2 separate regions of the Homo sapiens genome follow, and region 1 is linked to region 2. The links are contacts of gene promoters, found by promoter capture Hi-C in human tissues and cell types (Jung and others, 2019). All regions are on one chromosome and are shown on one strand. Each heading gives the region's core, a stretch centred on a gene start or on the middle of the fragment in contact. The rest is flanking DNA. Distances are from core to core; before and after follow the strand shown. Region 1 overlaps ROS1 (ROS proto-oncogene 1, receptor tyrosine kinase). Region 2 holds the start of ROS1 (ROS proto-oncogene 1, receptor tyrosine kinase).

Evidence for each region. The method cuts DNA at HindIII sites, captures the fragments that hold promoters and counts their contacts. A contact is called where the count stands out against the background at its distance.
Region 1: a contact is called between a fragment that was not itself captured here and the fragment with the promoter of ROS1 in region 2, in 1 of the 25 tissues and cell types used here (spleen).

What each region holds. Positions count from the first base shown.
Region 1 is chr6:117,380,858-117,386,066 of GRCh38, forward strand. It overlaps ROS1 (ROS proto-oncogene 1, receptor tyrosine kinase), which reads right to left. Exons shown (of 44, transcript NM_001378902.1): 16 at 4,826-5,004; 17 at 2,460-2,651. Among named protein-coding and RNA genes, the nearest start is that of ROS1, 42 kb to the right of the region's middle. The HindIII fragment of the contact is 5,252 bases long and covers 398-5,209 here.
Region 2 is chr6:117,423,383-117,428,491 of GRCh38, forward strand. ROS1 (ROS proto-oncogene 1, receptor tyrosine kinase) reads right to left here and starts at 2,560. Exons shown (of 44, transcript NM_001378902.1): 1 at 2,152-2,560. The coding sequence starts at 2,274. The HindIII fragment of the contact is 9,117 bases long and covers 1,112-5,109 here.

The DNA of each region.
Region 1 (5,209 bases), core at 1,774-4,273, 42 kb before region 2:
TTTTTACCTTAGAAGAATCTCTTACTTTGTTCATTCTTTTTTTATCACACAAGTAATTGGGCCTTTCTATAAATAATTGCCTGACTGTATTTCATTATGTCGGCTGATTGCAAAATATATTATTACTGCATAATAAATCTGTACATGACATCAATGAACAAGAGAGAGATGAAGAGCTTTGCTGGATGCAAAATGCATTGCCTTCAAAACATCCACTGTCACTAAGGGAGTCAGATAGATTAGACATCAAACCATGGAACCAGAACACAGATTTGCAAAAGCAACAACAGCACTTGACAACCTGGGAGAGGATTTGCAGAGGACTGTTTTTTTTTTTTTTTGGTTAATTTCCATTCTTTTGCTTTTATTATATATATATTTTTAACTTCAATAGCTTTTTGGGGTACAGGTAGTTTTTGGTCACATGGATGAATTGTACAGCTGTAAAGGCTGAGATTTCAGTGCACCAGTCACCTGAGTAGTGTAAAAATGTACCCAATATGTAGGGTTTTTTTTATCCCCCACCCAACTTCCACCCTCCCTCCTTCTGAGTCTCCAAAGTCTATTATATTACTCTGTATGCTTTTGCATACCCATGGCTTAGCTCCCACTTATAAGTGAGAACATATAGTATTTGGTTTGCCATTCCTGAGTTACTTTACTTAGAATAATGGCCTCCAGCTCCATCCAAATTGCTGCAAAAGACATTATTTCCTCCTTTTTTTTATGGCTGAGTGGTATTCTATGGTGTATTTATACCACATTTTCTTTATCCATCCACTAATCAGTTGATGGGCACTTAGGTTGGTTCCCTATCTTTGCAATTGCAAATTGTGCTGCCATAAACATATGTGTGCAGGTGTCTTTTTGATATAATAACTTCTTTTCCTTTGGGGAGATACCCAGTAGTGGGATTGCTGGATCGAATGATAGAAATACTATTAGTTCTTTAAGAAATCTCTGCACTGTTTTCCATAGAGGTTGTACTAATTTACATCCCCATCTGCAGTGTATAAGCGTTTGGAGGGGGGATTTAAAGAGGGGTAAGAAGGATGAATTTCCCCCAAACATGCTGAGATGACTCACTCATTTATGGGGAAGTCCCCAAGGTCACACCAGAGCTTTATCCTGGCTAGTGAGAGTACTCAAACAACCATATCAGAACACTGGGAAGATTACTGACAAAGTCCCTGAGGTGGAGAAGAAGTTACTCTTGAGATAATATTATCAATATGTTTTTACAAAAATGAAAATGCTTTTCCCTAACAATTATATTTTTTGAAAAACAAAAAAAAATGCTTTCTTTGTATTCAGACTCAAGTGACTCCAAAATAGAATTAAGAGACCTTTTTATTATTTGACAAGAATGATTGTCTTTGGATATGGTACATAAATTTCCATCTCTTTTAAATGTCTGTGTTATAATCCATGTAATGCAAATCAGGTCTCTTTAAATATCCTAGGAATTATGGCCCATATATGTTATTGGAATTGGAGATCAAGTGACTCAACTATTAGTTCATATATATACATACATTTTTAAAATCATCTGGTATTCTGTATTATGTATATTTTATCTCTGCAGAAAAAAATGACTTAAAATAAGAAAATCTTAAGGGATATATTAGGTAGAAATGGTGTGAATAATTTATTTATTCTTAATGCATTTCTGCAATTTTCAAGTTTTTCACAGTTGAAATATGTCACTATTATGGTCAGAAAAAATTAAAATTTAGAAACTTAGATGGATACCTAGTGGGTAGCTAAACAGAATCAACAAAAATAGTTATTGCTTGTAAAAGCTGAGGAAGTAAAAGTAACATTTGCTTTAGAAACATTCCTGTATTTGCAGGTTGAGTAATAATAATATGAGCTTAACTACGGAGCATTTACTTTGTACCTGGAACTATTCCCACTCCTCATGAATACTCTCATATAATCTTTATAAAAAAAAACTTAGGAGGTAGAATAATAGTTAACAGTCCCATTTTTCAGATAAGGAAAGAAACACGGAGAAGTGAAATCATTTGCCTAGTTTTTAGAAACAGTTTTTAAAACAGTCAGTGCCCAAAACTGATTGAAAATAGTAAAATGCCTAGTCACCACCTGATTCAAAGCTTCTAAAATATTCAACAGAAGTCCTTAAGACTATAAAAACAGTTATAAATTAAAATACTTTTAAGTTGGGTTCACTCAAAATAAAGTAAACAAAAAAAATCTCCATAGTGCATTTGAACTTACATAATCACTTATCACCATCAAATAAGGCTTTCAATTGTGACCATCAAATAAGGCGCTTTTTTTTCAAATAACAGAAAACTTGGTTAAACCAAGATCTTACCAAAACACTATTTCCTTTAGGAGTCTGCTTTAAGTACTCACAATAAGCGAGAGAAAGTATTATCATAAATATAGAGCTATTCAGTATTACTAAATGATCAGATCTTTTAATTTGTCACCTTTTTCCCAGAAAACCAAGGCTGTGTCTGTAGTACAAGGGAACTTTCCCCATTTAGTCTGGTGCTTTCCACTGAATAGAGTGTGGTCCAGTAGAGATATCCACCAACTGAATCCACCACCATGTCATTCACCAATAGCTTCACGTGGGTAACAATGTCTGTGTGTCCCGTCAACACAGACTGCCTTTGTATCTAAAAAACATAATTGTATGGCCAGTTAATGGCTTTCAAGTGACATTATTATTTCTGAATATTTATTGCAATCATTAATAAATTGCTTGATTAATCATTCATTCATTCAACCACAAATAGTGATTGGCACTATGTGCTGGGTAGTGTAATAAGCCTTGGAAACACAGCAACAAGCAAACAGGCATGGCACCTGCCCTCATGGGGCTTATCTGTTTTCATGCCTCCAAAGAGAAGGGAACTAAATTTACTTTGCATAAAAATAACTGCTTTTCCTAATTATACATCCAGACAATGTGAACACTGCTGGATAGGAATATATTTGATTAGACTCCCGAAAAAAGATGTTTATGTCCCTATAAATGATGACATCTCTCCTTGCTCTTCTCTATCAGTGTAGTTCCCTAATATTTCATGATTATCAATAATGTGCCAGGCACTGTACTTTTTTATCTTTAAAAATATAAACTCCTGTAATCCTCACATTAAGCTTATGAAGGATTTCTATTCCCTATTTTTTCACAGGTAAAGTGGATTAAAGTTAAACAATTTGTCCTGGAGTTAAACACTTTAATAAGAGATAGAGAAAATACTTAAAACTGGTTTTTATGTCCACTCTTCCATTTCCTTTTTCAAAACTATTTTTAAACTAACCTATTTGAGGGAGTGTTTTCTGACTAACCCCACTCAATTTCATTCTGCTTGCACATCTTTGGCACTTATGAATTCAGATTGTACCATATTGCTTTGTCTCTAAATACATTGCTTCATATGCTTCTTTATTTTATATATGTATTTTATCTCCTCAGAAGAGCAGGGACAACTGATGATGGCTGTACATCAATGGACACACTAAAAAATCTCTGAATTCTACACAATAAAAGAATGAATTTTGTGTTATGTGAATTATATCACAACAAAGTTGTTTTTAAAATAGCAGGGACATGTCGGCTATTTGTTTTATATTCCCTACTTTGCCTTCTTTCAAGGATTTCAACGCATTGGTAGTAGATAAATGATTGCTGGACAAATAAATAAATGGACAGCAAGTACTTTCCTGATTAAAAATTATTTCAATACCTTATTTCTTGATCTGTCAGGCCAATGTTCTTGTCATTAGCCATCATCTTTCTCTTCAAAATATATCACTCCACAGGTGTGCTGGATGTCTTTATTTTGCCTCTAGGTCTAATTCCCACCCTTCTCCACCCTACTCTGTGCCCCCATAGGCCAACATCTATGGACTTTATCTGCTAGGCTGAAGGGTTGTTGTCTGGCTTCTGGGGAGGTTCAGCCAATGGAAGCACTGGCAGATTAGAGGGCAGGAGGAAGGAGGGGTTGGGGTTCTTATTCCTTTAGCTGGCTCCTTGCCAGACCATACATCTTGATAGTGGCCAGCTTCTGTGCCTAAAGTCACAGTCCATATCAGCTACTCTCCTACAGCTACAGCCCTCACCAGGTTCTTCCACTTCTTCCCCTTGCCTATTCACACCTAGACTTATGTCTTCGCACACTTGTAAACCGTGAGGATGCCTCACCATCATTTGTTCATTTTCCCTAGCCCTGTGCACACCTTTGAAAATAGTCTCTTCACTTAGTTGCCTTGAATCATGCTTTTGGAGCATGCCATGTTCCTGCCAAGAACCAACGCTCAGGTGAGCATTTTCATGTATTTATTTAAATTATTATTGGGGAAAAAATACCTAATTCAACAAATAGTGATAACAAATTTAATTTACAAAAAAACATATTTTAAAAGTGAGATGAGGCCGGGAGCGGTGGCTCACGCCTGTAATCCCAGCACTTTGGGAGGCCGAGGCAGGCAGATCTCTTGAGGTCAGGAGTTCGAGACCAGCCTGGCCAACGTGGTGAAACCCCATCTCCACTGAAAATGCAAGAAGTAGCCAGGCATGGTGGCATATGCCTGTAATTCCAGCTACTCGGGAGGCAGAGGCCAAGATGGCGCCACTGCACTCCAGCCTGGGCAGCAGGGTGAAATTGTGTCTCAAAAAAAGAAAAAAAAAATGTTTAAGTGACTTGGTTTAAAGATAAACATTAAATAAATAATAGCATAAGTGGTGCACAGGTATTTAAAAAAAAAAAAGAAATTGGTGTGCAAGTCACTGAAGTGGATAAGTATCATTCTAGAGCATCCAGAATGCCATGCTTTAACTCACCACATATGTCTTTCCAGCCCAGTAGAGAAAGTGACCCAGCCACTCAAAAGCTAAAGCCCCTGCTCCTGCAATGCTGGGTAGGTGATAATTCTCTGAGATATCCGTCCCATTCAGCAGCCACACAAAAACGTCGCCTTTCGTGTCACTGTAGTAGAGGCTGTTGTTATACCAATCCATGTCTCAAAATAAAGTGAATGATTAGCAGTTATTTTTCATACATACCAACAAAAACATAATGAGTCAACAAATCACATCTGCACCTCAACATAATTTTAAACAACACACTGACACATATTCACTAGAACTTGATCTGTCAAGAATATTTAAATAATGTTTCCCAAACTCTTAACCCCTGAAACCAGGGAGAACAGTGGATACACATCG
Region 2 (5,109 bases), core at 1,310-3,809:
CTGTGAATCTACAAAAAGAGGGCATAGCAAAATACACTTCCACAAATGATTCAACCGTGAATTCTTTTTTCTTTATCATAAAGGATCTCACAATACTAGAGTTCTGAAGAGCATTAATTGTTTGTTGTTTTCTGCAGCACATGGCTTCTAGAATTCAAAAAAACTTTTCAGTTAATACTTTCAACTAGTACATGCAGATCTCTGTTAACGTAAGATAAAAGTAATGTAAAATACCAATGCTCAAGCATAGAACTCTGCTTCGTGCAATTTGGCCCACAATTCTAACATTTTATTTTTGGACAAGACATTCTTGTGGTGACTTTTTTTTTTTAAGAAAACATTTCTCAATATCAAGAATCACCCAATAAAATTATAGATGACCTTCAGAGTAAATGTCCATGTTTTTAAAAATGATGCAGAAAATATAATAAACTTGAGCACTTTGTATATCCTCTCCTGTGAACCATGGTTACATTCAATTGTACATTCACTTCACTTTTGTCCCTCCAGGCCCTATGTGGGAACATGTAGTACTTTCACTGGTCAAATTGGCAGACCGTGTCTCTCTTGCTGTTGCCACACATCAGCTGTGCCATTCTCTGTAGGTGGTGAACGGAAGGCAACTCAACAAAGGAACAAACTGTCTATTCCTACTGCCAAACCCTGGAAGCAAGGAGCCCACACAAAAAGATAAGAATAAATAAAACGACAGTAAAATAAAATGGAGACTGCAATATTGGAAACAACTAAAATCAGTTTCAGTAGCAGGGAAATTAACAAATAAATTATGGTGGTACATTCATATAATGGAATACTCTAAAGATAATAAAGATTCTGTTTCTAAAAAAATCTCAGGGTCTAGGGGAAAACTCACAATACAATGTAATGAAAAAGCTGGTTGCATAGCTGGGTGTAAATTATAGATATATATGTATACATATATATATATGAGGAAAAATACTAAAAGAAAATTCAATCAAAAGATTACTAGGGCTAGAATTAGAAGTTTTTTATTCTTCTGTAGTTCTCTATGTTATAAATATTTTATTTAAAATGTATACTCTTATTATAATTAGAAAAAAGTTAAAATCTTTTTTAGAACATTTAGTTTTCCATTCAGTAGTTGAAACATTTAGTAGTTCCATTCTTCCATTTTTAAGTTTGGGTTACAAATATAAAAAACTAAAGCATGCAATTCTATATTAAAGGCAATGAAGTCTTCGGCAAAGATTTATATAAAATACTAAACTTTTAAAAAAATGCTACTAACCATGGTAAACCTAAGTAGTGTTTTAAACTACAGTTTAAATCAAAAGTGTATAAGTGCAAGTTTCTTTTTAATCTGCCACATAATTCTATCTCCAATACTTTAGAATAATATAATGAATACTATATTTAGTACTTGCATTATGTTTAAAAGTATGGCTATAGATAGGGTCATATGCAAACTATCATGATATTTTATTTGTCTTTAGACAGGAAGAGTGCATTTTCTCTGTCTATAGAGTACTTGGTTTTTAAAGTTAATTCAGTGACTGTTTTAAGCACAACTAAATTACAACTGAAAAGAGATGGTACAATAGTTAGAGAAGGGATGACACCCAGAAATGAGAATGAAAGCATGAATTTCCATATAAAAAACTCACTAACTAAAATAATAAATGCACAAACAGAAATAAAGAAATGTACAAATAATTATTGCTTTAAAATATTATTTTACATGGCAACTGTATCTGCTTCCTTTTTCATCCAGCTCCCTACACAGCTGGAATTAGCAGGCATTATCCTGTGGCCAAACCGATTTCAGGTTTCAAGACAACTACTAATGACTTTGTAATAAATAAGTTTAAATAGAAAGTTTTTAAGTGTGCAAAATTGGCAAAATTGATTCCATTTAAACCTCCTTTACCCAGTCCTCTAGCCCAAAAAATATATGACCACATACCCTAAAGAAATAAAATAGCCTGCTTTATCTTCTGCAATTATAAGGGCTCCTAACTTATTTAAGAAAAAATAATCTATCTTGCCTTGTTGCCACCACTTCTCATAAGAAAACTCCTCATAAAGAGAAAACAATTCTATCAGTTATAACAAGCTGAATGCTACATGTTCTAGTTCCTGCAAAGACAAATATTAGATTGTGAGACTTACCAGATTAGTTACACACGACTTTAGGCAGCTATTTAAAACTGTACACTGCACCACAGAAATCCATAGGCAGCCAAGAGTTGCAAAATTGACAAGCTTCGGAATAAGACAGTAAATGTTCTTCATCACTTCACCAATGGCAGATTTTTAGATGGCCGGTCTAATTTTCTCCATTTTGCTATATGAATTATTTGGGCTTCATCACTTCAATTGGAGGAGTAGCTGATGGATTTTGCTTTGTTTGTTTTGCTATATTAGGATATACTTGCCTTTTGAAATAATACTTAGCCTTTTTCATTTAGACCTTTGAATGCTTGAAAGCTTGTAACAGTTCCATAAGAGCTATTTCATAACAGCTTCCTTTTACTCCCATAAAGTCACCCAGTGACTAAAGGTTAGTTCTTAGAAGTGCACTTCACATGGAAATTAAAGAAAACGAATTGTATTTCAGCAAGGGTGTGACACATGCAGTCTGAAACTGGAACATTTCAGTGGGTCGTCCACCACCTTACTTCTCTGAGCTCTTTTCAGCTCTGCAGGGAATTGGGTTTTGACCACGTATGCTTTAGCAAACAGTAGCACTATTATAATAAAGAATTATTGGAAAAATAGAGGCACCCAAATCAAGCAATGCAACTGAGAGAGAAAACAGAACTCAGAAGCCAAATACATATTTTTAAATTTAAGAGCAAACAAAGCTGAAATTAATAGACAAATACCCTGGGAGAGAGTTAAAAACAAGGAAGTTGGTTAGAGTACTCTCAGAACTTTACTACATATTAACTAAAATACTGACTTATCAGGTCTATCGAGACAGCTGAAACTAGTTACCAGAAACCTAAGATATGTTCAAGTGTCTGCTTTGAGAAGGAAACATTGTACAAGCTTCCTTCCTGCCTGCCTTCCTTCCTCTCTCTCTCTCTCTCTCTTTCTTTGAGACTGAATTTCTGTCTGTCGCCCAGGCTACAGTGCAGTGGCATGATCCCAGCTCACTGCAACCTCCGCCTCCCAGGTTCAAGCGATTCTCCTGCCTCAGCCTCCCGAGTAGCTGAGACTACAGACGCCCGCCACCATGCCCAGCTAATTTTTGTATTTTTAGTAGAGATGGGGTTTCACCATGTTGCCCAGAGTGGTCTCGATCTCTTGACCTCGTGATCCGCCCACCTCGGCCTCCAAAAGTGCTAGGATTACAGGCGTGAGCCACCGCGGTACAACAGGCCAACCTCCTTGTTTTCTTAAATAAATTATACTAAATGTAACTTAACCTTTTCTTAATGATATAAGGTTCTCCCTATGAGTAACACATGCATGAGGTTTTGTTTTGAGCTGAACGTCTTTTGATTGGATTTTTGTTTGTTTGTTTTTTAATTTTTGTGGGTACATAGTAGGTGTATGTATTTATGGGGTACAGGAGATGTTTTGAAACAGACATGCCATGTGAAATGAGCACATCATGAAGAATGGGGTGTCCATCCCCTCAAGCATTTATCCACTGAGTTGCAAACAATCCAAGTATGTTCTAAGTCATTTTAATATGTACAGTTATTATTGACTGTAGTCACCCTGTTGTGCTATCAAATAGTAGGTCTTATTTATTCTTTCTACATTTTTTGTACCCATTAACTGTCCCCATCTCCCATCCCCCACCCCACCCACCACCACCCTTCCCAGCCTCTGGCAACCATCCTTATACTCTCTTTGTCCATGAATTCAATTGTTTTGATTTCTAGATCCCATAAATAAGTGAAAACATGCAATGCTTGCCTTTCTGTGCCTAGCTCAATTCACTTAACGTAATAATCTCCAGTTCCATCCATGTTGTTGGACGTGACTGAATATGGCTGAATAGTTCTCCATTGTGTATATGTACCACATTTTCTTTACCCATTCATCTGTTGATGCATACTTAGGTTGCTTCCAAATCTTAGCTATTGTAAACAGTGCTGCAATAAACATTCACATGCAGATATTTCTTTGATATACTGATTTTCTTTCTTTTAGGCATATACCCAGCAGTAGAATTCTAGATCATATGGTAGCTCAATTTTTAGTTTTTTGAGGAACTTCCAAACTGTTCTCCATAGTGGTTGTATTGATTTACATTCTCATCAAAAATATACAAGGGTTTCCTTTTCTCCACATTGCCACCAGCATTTGTTATAGCCTGTCTTTTGGACATAAGCCATTTTAACTGGGTAAGATGATATCCCATTGTAGTTTTGATTTGCATTTTTCTGATGATTAATGATGTTAAACACCTTTTCATATGCCTGTTTGTCATTCGTATGTCTTTTGAGAAATGTCTATTCAAATCTTTTGCCCATCCTTTGATTGGATTATTTGATTTTTTTTCTATAGAGTTGTTTGAGCTTTTTATTTATTCTGGTTATTAATCCCTTGTCTGATGGGTAGTTTGCAAATATTTTCTCCCATTCTGTGGGTTTTCTCTTAACTTTGTTAATTGTATCCTTTGCTGTAAAGAAGATTTTTAACTTGATGTGATCTCGTTTGTCCATTTTTGCTTTGGTTGCCTGTGCTTGTTGGGTATTGCTCAAGAAATTTTTACCCCAACCAATGTCCTGGAGATTTCCCCAATGTTTTTTGTAGTAGTTTCATGGTTTGAGGTCTTAGATTTAAGTCTTTAGTCCATTTTGATTTGAATTTTGTATATGGAGAGAGATAGGGGTCTAGTTTTATTCCTTTATATATGTATATCCAGTTTTCCCCACACCATTTATTGAAGAGACTGTCTTTTCCCCAGTGTATGTTCTTGGCATCTTTGTCAAAAATGAGTTTACTGTAGGTGTGTGGATTTCTTTCTGGATTCCCTAGTCTGTTTCACTGATCTGTGTGTCTATTTTTATGCCAGTAGCATGCTGTTTTGGTTACTATAGCTCTGTAGTATAATTTGAAGTCAGGTAATGTAATTCCTCCAGTTTTGTTCTTTTGCTTAGGATAGCT